Regions from separate parts of the Homo sapiens genome. Here regions 1 and 3 are each linked to region 2. Evidence: promoter capture Hi-C in human tissues and cell types (Jung and others, 2019). All regions are on one chromosome and are shown on one strand. The core of a region is centred on a gene start or on the middle of the fragment in contact, and the rest is flanking DNA. Distances in the headings are between cores, read along the strand shown.

Region 1 (3,499 bases), core at 351-2,850, 39 kb before region 2:
GGGTTTCACCATGTTGGTCAGGCTGATCTGAAACTCCTGACCTCCAAAGTGTTGGGATTACAGGCGTGAGCCACCACACCTGGATTTTTTTTTTTTTTTTTCTGAGACAGAGTCCCTGTCACCCAGGCTGGAGAGCAGTGGAGCGATCTTGACTCACTGCAACCTGTGCCTCCCAGGTTCAAGTGATTCTCGTGCCTCAGCCTTCTGAGTAGCTGAGACTACAGGCGTGCACTACCACACCTGGCTAATTTTTGTATTTTTAGTTGAGATGGGGTTTTGCCATGTTGGCCAGGGTGGTCTCGAACTCCTGACCTCAGGAGATCCACCTGCCTCGGCTTCCCAAAATGCTGGGATTACAGGCATGAGCCACCACACCTGGCCGTTTCACCCCATTTGAACCTTAGTTTTCTCCTCTGGGAAGCCAAATTAATAAATGTTTTTATCACAGGGCCGTCGTTGAAGCATGTATGACTATGTGTGTGAAAATGTTCTGCAAACCAAAAAGGGCTCAGGTGCTATAATTTTTTTTCTGCAAAGGTTGGGCTTTGAAAGGACTTTAATTAAAGATTTTAACTGTAAGATATTCATAACCTAAAATTGCCTTTTTAACCATTTTTAGGTGAACAGTTTCGTGGAATTACATTCACATTGTTGCACAACCACCATCATCCACAGAACTCTTCTCTTGCAAAACTGACACTTTGTACCCAGTAAACATGAACTGCTCATTCTCCCTCCCCCAGCCCTTGACAACCAACACTCTGCTCCTTATCTTTATAAATTTGACCACCGTAAGAACCTCACATGAACGGAATCATACAGCATGTGTCCTTTTGTGACGGGCTTATTTCACTTAGCAGAATGTCCTTAAGGTTCATCCTTGTTACAGCATGGGTCAGAATTTCCTTCCTCTTTTAAGGCGGAATAATATTCCCTGTGGGTACACGTACCATTTTGCTTATCCGTTCATCTGTCAATGGACACCTGGGTTGCCTCCACCATTTGGCTATGGTGAACGATGCTGCTATGAGCATGACTGTACAAATATCTGGTCAGGTCCCTGTTTTCATGCTGTTGGGTATATTCCCAGAAGTGGAATTGAGGGATCCTATGGTAATTCTATGTTTAAGTTTTCAAAGAACCGTCATATAGTTTTCCACAGCAGCTAAGTGCTATTATTTTATTTATTTATTTATTTAGAGACAGAGTCTCGCTCTGTCACCCAGGCTGGAGTGCAGTGGTGCGCTCTCAGCTCACTGCAACCTCTGCCGCCCGGGTTGAAATGATTCTCCTGCCTCAGCCTCCCAAGTAGCTGGGACTACAGGTGCCTGCCACCACACCCGGCTAATTTCTGTATTTTTAGTAGAGACAGGGTTTCACCATGTTGGCCAGGCTGGTCTCGAACTCCTGACCTCAGGTCCTCAGGTGATCCTCCCACCTCGGCCTCCCAAAGAGCTGGGATTACAGGCGTGAGCCACCACGCCCAGCTAAGTTGCTATCATTTTTAAGGTCATGCTTTGGCACCGCAATGACTCCAGACAAGAGTCTCCTTTGTCTCTTGGCTGCTGGAGGGAAGGGGATAGAGGTTGGCGCATGTCCCTTGGTGCATGTTCCAGAGATCCTGTTGCTGTGGGTGCTCACAGCACCCTCCCTACCCTCCACTCCTCATTTCTCCTGTTTGGGATCCACTGAGCTAGATGCTTCTCCCTCTCCCTGGGCTAAAGCTTATTTGCAGCACCCTCAGTACCTACTAGCAGAGAGGCATTCAAGCTGAAATCCTGCATCTATATCAATTACTCGATTACCTATTTCAAATCTGAATCCAAAAACTACTCTGTTAACTCTGTGTATGAGTCCAGTTCTCTTAAATGTTATATGTGCATCAAAATGAAACACACATTTGTCTAGACTTCAGCAGGAAAATATGAGCTTGATTGTGTTTGTCATTTTTATACCTACTTCTGAACCTTCCTGAAGCTGACACCTGTTACTCAGGGCCCAATTTTTCCATATGAGGAAAGACAAAAAGGATTGTCCATGAGACACTGCTAGTGGCCGGGCTGTGAGTGGCCGGGACCAGTGGCTGCTCCCTCAGCCTCCTATGGGGTCCCCAGGGGCTGTGGGCATGAAACACAATTCCCTTCCCCTGCACTTTGCAGTCCTAGGCTTGTTTGTCTCCGCTAGCCACTGATGCCTTCAGAAGCCCCCATTGTCAAATGCCCAGCTTGAAGCTCGCCACCTCCTTCCAGGGTGCCTTGAAAAAGAGCAGAACAGGGCGCTGGGGTCCCTGTCATGGTGCACACAGACAATGACATCGGGCATGACCTGGCCAAGCACACCTCTCCATTGGCGGGGCAGGGCGGGGTGGGGGTGGTGGCTGTGAGGAGGGCTGTCCACACTTCCAGCTTCCACTAGGTGGTGCTGGCGATGTCACCGCACATCTTCCAAAGCAATTTCAGGGTTCATTTCCCCCTTCGAGTTGGGTTTGCCTTCTCAGTGGCCGAAATTGCATATGGACCCAAGATTTTGGCCCAAGCCCCCTCCTCTGGAGCTGCAGACATCCTGGGTGAATTTTCCTGCGGTGTTGATGGTGAAACTGAGCCCTATTCTTAGTCACTAGATCCTCGGAATCTCCAAATGGATGGTCTCTGCTCACGTCCCACGTCCCTGAAGTTAAGAGACACCTGATTCTCACCTGGATTTGAGTCTGCAGTCCCCATTCTGGTTGCTCCACTATGAGATTACGTTCAGGGAGTCTGTCGTCAACCTAAAATAACAACAGAAAGGGAGTCTCTGAAGATAACAAGTTTATTCTGGAATGAGCAGAAGGATTTGTAAATCTGGGAATACATGATGTGCCAGGACACCCCATGGTGGGACCACAGGCCGACTCAGGGAGACAAAGGAAAGCAGAGGTGGTGTTTTTTTTTTTTTTTTTTTTTTTTTTGCCCCAAGACGGAGTCTCGCTTTGTAGCCAGGCTGGAGTGCAGTGGCGCGATCTCGGCTCACTGCAACTTCCGCCTCCCGGGTTCCAGCAATTCTCCTGCCTCAGCCTCCCAAGTAGCTGGAAATACAGGCATGTGCCACCATGCCCGGCTAATTTTGTACTTTTAGTAGAGATGGGGTTTCTCCATGTTGGGCAGGCTGGTCTCGAACTCCTGACCTCAGGTGATCCATCCGCCTTAGCCTCCCAAAGTGCTGGGATTACAGGCGTGAGCCACCACGCCCGGCTGAAAGCAGAGGTTTTTAAAGCCAAAATGGGGAGAATTATGTAAGTTATTTTAAATAATGATCCCTAGGTACAAGAATTAATAACAAGGGTCACCTTAGCTCAAGGTTAAACAGACAGTTGTTGGGCAGATGTCCTCATAGAGGTGGCCTTTGTGCAGGGCTGTGATTCATTCTGCATGGTTGTGGTTTGGTGGGATCTCTTACAATAGTTCCTGTTATCCAGGAAACTGTGTGTGAGGCCCCCACTTCTTTTCTTTTTTTTTCTTTG
Region 2 (3,310 bases), core at 615-3,114:
CAAAATAAATAATCAGCAGAGAAAACAGACAACCCTCAAAGTGGGAGAAAATATTTGCAAACTGTGCATTTGACAAAGGACTAATATCCAGTTTCTACAAGGAACTCAAACAAATCAGCAAGAAAAAAAAAATAATCCCATCAAAAAGTGGGCAAAGGACATGAATAGACAATTCTCAAAAGAAGATATACAAAATGAAATGGCCAAAAAAATATGAAAATGTGCTCAACGTCACTAATTATCAGAGAAATGCAAATTAAAACTGCAATAAGTTGCCACCTTACTCCTGCAAGAATGGCCATAATTTAAAAATCAAAGAAGAATAGAAGGGTGCAGTGGCTCACACCTGTAATCCCAGCACTTTGGGAGGCCAAAGCAGGTGGATCACTTGAGGTCAGGAGTTCAAGACCAGCCTAGCTAAAATGGTGTGAATATGGTGACAAGGGAAAACTTTTACACTGGTGGTGGGAATGTAAACTAGTACAACCACTATGGAAAACAGTATGGCAACTCCTTAAAAAACTAAAAGTAGAATACCATTTGATCCAGTAATCCCACTACCGGGTATCTACCCAGAGGAGAAAAGTTATTATATAAAAAAGATACTCGCACATGCATGTTTATAGCTGCATAATTTGCAACCGAAAAAATATGGAACCAACCTAAATGCTCATCAGCCAACAAGTGGATGAAGAAAATGTGTGTGTATATACACACACACACACACACACACACACCCCTATATATGTATATGCCATGGAATATTACTCAGCTGTAAAAAGGAAGGGAATAATGGCATCCGTAACAATCTGGATGAAGTTGGACACCATTATTCTGAGTGAAGTAACTCAGGAATGGAAAACCAAATATTGTATGTTCTCATTTATTAGTAGGAGCTAAGCTATGAAGACACAAAGTCACAAGAAGGATACAATGGGCTGGGCGCCGTGGCTCACACCTGTAATCCCAGCACTTTGGGAGGCCAAGGCAGGTGGATCACTTGAGGTCAGGAGTTCAAGACCAGCCTGGCCAAGATGGTGAAACCCCATCTCTACTAAAATTACAAAAAATTAGCTGGGTGTAGTGGCAGGCACCTGTAATCCCAGCTACTCGGAAGCTGAGATGGGAGGATGGCTTGATTGTGCCACTTGAAGTAGCTATGATTGTGCCACTGCTCTCCAGCCTGGGCTACAGAGCAAGACTCTATATCAAAAACATAACAGAAAACATAACCTCAGAAGCATTACAATAAATATGCAATAAGCATCCACCCAGCATGTGTGGGGGACTGTGCTGATGCTGATGGCATGTGTGGGAGTAAGGCAGGCATCTGAGGAATGTGGGGGAACGGAAGGACGGGGAGTAATCTGGAGAGCCCCACGGTCAGTCAGTGGCAGGTCTTTCTTGAGCTCAGAAAGGTTAGGTAACTAGTTCAGATCAGACAGTAAAACAGGGGCAGAGCCTGGAATTGCACTGAGGCTTGAGTCTGACTTCTCTCCCCCACCTGCTGTGCCCTTAAACTGCAGAGATCGGGGCGGGGGTTGGGGGGCAAGCGGCTCAGATGGGTTCAAAAAACTCCCCAGGCTCAACTCTGGTTCTGACTGCCTGAGACATGGGCAGCTGACACAGCAGACCTTGAATCCTGAGGATGTGAGGCAGGTGGGTTGGATGAGAGGGACCCGGATGTCTGGTCTGCGGCTGCTCCTCTAAGTGCAGCAGCAAGGAGGCTGGGCCTGGACTGCAGGTGGTGCTGGGGAGCAGCGTGTTTACTGTGCTTGGTCATGAGCTGCTGGGAAGTTGTGACTTTCACTTTCCCTTTCGAATTCCAGGGTATATCTGGGAGGCCGGAGGACGTGTCTGGTTATTACACAGATGCACAGCTGGACGTGGGATCCACACAGCTCAGAACAGTTGGATCTTGCTCAGTCTCTGTCAGAGGAAGATCCCTTGGTAAGTTGGGGATAGTGTGATCTACCCCCATGTCCTTATTCTTGCAATAGCTCTATAAGGGAAGGATCATTCAGCTTTTGTAGATAAGCTCAGAGAGGTTAGGTAGCTGGTTCAGATCAGACAGGAAAGCAGTGGCAGAGCCGGGATTTGCACCCAGGCTTGAGTCTGATTGCTCCCTCCCTCCTGCTGGGCGGGTAAACTGTAGAGAGAGGTGGGGAAAACAGCTTAGATGGGTTCACAAAGCTCCCCGGGCTCAGCTCTGGTTCTGACACCCTCAGACACGGCCAGCTGACCCCAGAAGAAAGGTAGGTGTTGGGGGTGCCCATCTCTTTGGGAAATTTGAAGGAATCAAAGAAGGTGGAGGAGGGGAGGTGACCTGGAGCCCGGCATGTCCTTGTGGCCGGGCCACACCCAGGCTGGCCCCAGGGTGCTGCTGCTGAAGCCCAATGGGAACAACAGATTTCTTTTGAGACACAAGGAACTCAGAGGTTGTCTCACTCACCCTGAGTCTGAGCACCTACTTGTGCCAGGCCCTGTGGGGAAACTGAGGCCCTGGGAGGGGAATGACTTGCCAGGGTCCCGTGTCAGGAGGCTGAGCAGGCAGATCATAGGACTTCACGTCTCTGGCCCTCACCTCTGTCCCTCTGTTCAGACCTCTGAGCTGATAGAGAAGAAACAGGCTGTGCTGTGTCCCTAATGGGAAACATGGCTGAGACAGGGGAGTGAGAAGGTCGCATTGCAGAATGGTACCTGTGGCATGATGCCAGCTTTGCAATCATGAGATTCAAAAGCCACACTGTGGAATTGTGAGTATAACTACAGGAGTGAGAGCTTAGGTCTCTGTGTTTGTAGAAGCAGAATCAAACCTGGACACTGTTGGATTATTAAAATCACCCATTTTTGCTTCAATATCAGAGTCACAAGGGCAGATGTTGGCCTCCCCTCTGCCCTCCAAGAGCTGTGTGACTCTGGGCAAGTCACCTCCCCTCCCAGCCTAAGATTTTTCCCCTCTAAAAAACTTGATAGAGCTGCCAAAAGTCCATGAAATCAGGGGGGTAATTTCTGTGAAATATGAGTCATGGTCTTATTTGTTCTTCACCAAAAAGAGATGCCCATCAAGATAGAAAGAAAAATTAAATTCAATTTCTCAACTGAAAGTGAAACTGAAGCTGGGCCATGTCATCCAGAGGCTGGTTGCTTTTAGTTCAAGTAATGCCTCCTGCACCTGGGATTTCAGCCAGGCTGTGCCAGGGAGGGCGGAGGGCATCCAGGTCAGTCGTAGGGGGTGCAGCTGGGAACACAACAGTGTCCCCATTGAATGTTCAGAGTCTAAAGGGGAGACAGAGGCCCAAAGAGCCAC
Region 3 (3,313 bases), core at 461-2,960, 62 kb before region 2:
CAAAAGCCCTCCAGCTGACACCTGCAGCCCACCTTCACAGTACATCAGCTTCTGACGTTCTCCCACCAAACAAAAGCTCAGATAGGGAACAGCACGAAGGGTGGGAAGCTGAAGTCCAGAGTCACCCAGGGCCAGTCAGCTTAATCACCAAGGGTCACGCTCAGTCCCCACACTGAGTAGGATCTGTGGTTACTTCACACGTGCCTTCACCCCCATGGGCACCTCAGTGGAGGGGTAGTCTGGTGACCTAGGTCCTTCACCGACTGTAAGATTAGTGCCTCATGGAGTCACACAGCCTGTAAGTGGGAGAAACTTATCTCAACCCCAAGGCCAGACCCCTTCCCTGAATTTCTTTCTTGAGGTGCCCCAGGCAAGGGTAGACCCCCAGAAAAGCTTGAGGACAAGACCAGGACTGTTAGGTCGGGTCTGCTGTCCACTGCTCCGCGCTGACCATGTTCCTCACCACACAGAGCATTTGCCAAGCGGCAGCAGCAGCTTACCGCCATGAAGGTCCTCCAGCGGAACTGCGCTGCCTACCTGAAGCTGCGGAACTGGCAGTGGTGGCGGCTCTTCACCAAGGTGCGTGCTAGAAGGGCCTCCTGAGTAGCTGGGACTACGGGTGCACACCACCATACATACCTGGCTAATTGTTTGTATTTTTTGTAGAGGTGTGGTCTCACCATGTCGCCCAGGTTGGTCACAAACTCTTGGGCTCCAGCAATCCTCCTACCTCAGCCTCCCAAAGTGCTGGAATTACAGGCATGAGCCACTGTGCCCGGCCCTTTTTGATTTTTAGTAGAGACAAGGTCTCACTATCTTGCCCAGGCTGACCTTCCTGGCCTTTAAAAAAAAAATCTCTTTATTTTTAAACTTGTCCGGGCTGCTTTTGTGTATAATACATAATTTATGGTAATGGCGAAAAACCAACTCACAAAAAGCCTAAAGAATTAAATAAAAATTCACACATAAACCCTTAGCCTAAACCAACAGCAGCAGCTATTTTAGTGTTTAATTTCTCGCTCTTTTTCTCACTGCCTATAAAACCTCAGCTATGTAAACAGTATACATTCTTCCATAGCTGAGTTTGACTCATATAAACAGTTGTAGTTCGTACGTTCCATTTATGATTCCTTCATAAGCATCGTTTTTTTAGAGGTAGTGTGCTGTTCCCTAGGGAACACATCATTATCTGGGTACTTTTTCAGAGATGGGTCCTTCCTCATTTTCTTGCTGTGATAAACAATGCCGAGGTGAACATCTTCACGCACACGCAGGGATAGTTTCCCTGGAATGTAGTTAGCGGGTCAGAAGCCCGTGGTACAGAGCGCCAGGAAGGATGTGCCTGCTTGCAGCCCCCACCACAGCGTGTCTTCTTGCCCCTCACTTTCATGTTTCCAGAGGTGAGGGAGAGGCCTCACACCTGTTGGCAGAGGCGGGCATCTTCCAGCCGAGCATGTCTCTACCTCTATCTCCTCTCCCAGGTCAAGCCGCTGCTGCAGGTGAGCCGGCAGGAGGAGGAGATGATGGCCAAGGAGGAGGAGCTGGTGAAGGTCAGAGAGAAGCAGCTGGCTGCGGAGAACAGGCTCACGGAGATGGAGACGCTGCAGTCTCAGGTGGGTGTCAGTGCAGGCTCAGTCCAGGTCGCACGACCTGCCTGGTGCTGCCACCTGCTGGCCATCGGTAGGCACGGCATGCTGGAAGTTTCTATTACTATAGGAGTTTTCTACAACTGAGTTTCCTATTACTGTAAACAGTGACCAGTCTCTCTGCAGACCCCATTGGGTGTTAAGTGATGTAGGGAGGCCACTTAATAGAGTGGAACGTTCACAAGTGTTGGGTTCAAACCTCAGCTCTACCACATGACTTGAGCCCATTTCCTGGGACCTTGCTCTGGAGCTCATGGGGTAGTGAAAAATCAAGGACACGATGTCTGGAAGGTACCTGGAAGCTTCAGAGCTCTCCAGATGAAAGCTACTTTTGTCTGCATGTTCCTTTCCCTCTGGGATCCCGAGCCATGGCGTCCGTCCTTGAGGATGGAGTGGCTTGAGGGTGTTGCGAGGAGCTTGTGTTTTCCACTTGTTGTTTGCAGCTCATGGCAGAGAAATTGCAGCTGCAGGAGCAGCTCCAGGCAGAAACCGAGCTGTGTGCCGAGGCTGAGGAGCTCCGGGCCCGCCTGACCGCCAAGAAGCAGGAATTAGAAGAGATCTGCCATGACCTAGAGGCCAGGGTGGAGGAGGAGGAGGAGCGCTGCCAGCACCTGCAGGCGGAGAAGAAGAAGATGCAGCAGAACATCCAGGTTCCTGCCCGCTGCACCCGGGGAGGGGTGGCGCCGGAGGGGCAGGGCGGGGCGGAGGAGCAGGAACCAGGAGCTGGGAGAACATGGAATTAGGGTCCAAGGAGGCTGCTCCTCACGCAATCTGCTTGGGGCTCTCAGTGAGAGGTGTTCCCTTTGGGCTGGTAGTTTGTGACATGTGCATCTGAGATCTCCATGAGCACTGCCTGGGCCAGCATCAAGGCCAATTTGATTTCCCTGCCATTAGCCCTGGCCCTGGCTAGCCGAAGGGGCACAGGGCCAGCACCTCTGCGTCCTGCCTGTTTCATGGGTGGGAGCTTGCTGCAGGAAACCCTTCAGAACATTGCACCGATGTTCTGGCCCTGTGTCCCAGTTTGAAATCTGGAATCCTACAAATGGGGCTTGGGCCCTGCCTCGGCTGTGGCCCTGGGCTGGCGGACCTTGCCGTCCCCACCTCAGCCATGGCCCTGGGCTCACAGACCTTGCTATTTTCTCCTTGGCGTTTGGATCTGGCCTTCGGACCTTGCTGCCTTCACCTTGGCCATGCCTCTGGGCCTGCTGTCCTTACCGTGTCTCTGGCCCCCGGCAGGAGCTTGAGGAGCAGCTGGAGGAGGAGGAGAGCGCCCGGCAGAAGCTGCAGCTGGAGAAGGTGACCACCGAGGCGAAGCTGAAAAAGCTGGAGGAGGAGCAGATCATCCTGGAGGACCAGAACTGCAAGCTGGCCAAGGTGAGGCCCGTGGCTGTCGCCTGCCGCTGCTCCAGGGGCGCCGTGGATGGGAGAGTGTGGTCACCCTTGCAGGGCCTGGCTCCCCGCTGCTGCTGCTTCCTGTCTCTTCTGCCTGCAGCATGAGGGCTTCTGCTTAACTGCAAGTGCTCCCTGGAGGTCCCATGGGCCTTAGTTGAGGGATTTCCTCATAAGCAAAGGGGCCCTGGGGAAGGGTTTGTCCTTTCCCCTCTGGAAAGCTCTTCTTTGCCAGCCGTGAGACCCGAGCCTGTGTAAAGGTGGCCATCTGTGCAGCA

Evidence for each region. The method cuts DNA at HindIII sites, captures the fragments that hold promoters and counts their contacts. A contact is called where the count stands out against the background at its distance.
Region 1: a fragment that was not itself captured here is called in contact with the fragment with the promoter of APOL2 in region 2 in 1 of the 25 tissues and cell types used here (bladder).
Region 3: a contact is called between a fragment that was not itself captured here and the fragment with the promoter of APOL2 in region 2, in 1 of the 25 tissues and cell types used here (adrenal gland).

Annotation. Positions count from the first base shown.
Region 1 is chr22:36,276,750-36,280,248 of GRCh38, reverse strand. No RefSeq gene overlaps it. Among named protein-coding and RNA genes, the nearest start is that of MIR6819, 8.4 kb to the left of the region's middle. The HindIII fragment of the contact is 4,206 bases long and covers 1-3,499 here.
Region 2 is chr22:36,238,081-36,241,390 of GRCh38, reverse strand. It overlaps APOL2 (apolipoprotein L2), which reads left to right and starts at 1,864. Exons shown (of 5, transcript NM_030882.4): 1 at 1,864-1,950. RefSeq lists enhancers at 1,576-1,625, 1,636-1,885, 2,423-2,937. The HindIII fragment of the contact is 12,319 bases long and covers 1-3,310 here.
Region 3 is chr22:36,299,834-36,303,146 of GRCh38, reverse strand. MYH9 (myosin heavy chain 9) reads left to right here. Exons shown (of 41, transcript NM_002473.6): 20 at 471-579; 21 at 1,482-1,613; 22 at 2,090-2,296; 23 at 2,883-3,020. Among named protein-coding and RNA genes, the nearest start is that of MIR6819, 15 kb to the right of the region's middle. RefSeq lists an enhancer at 1,992-3,191. The HindIII fragment of the contact is 3,060 bases long and covers 181-3,240 here.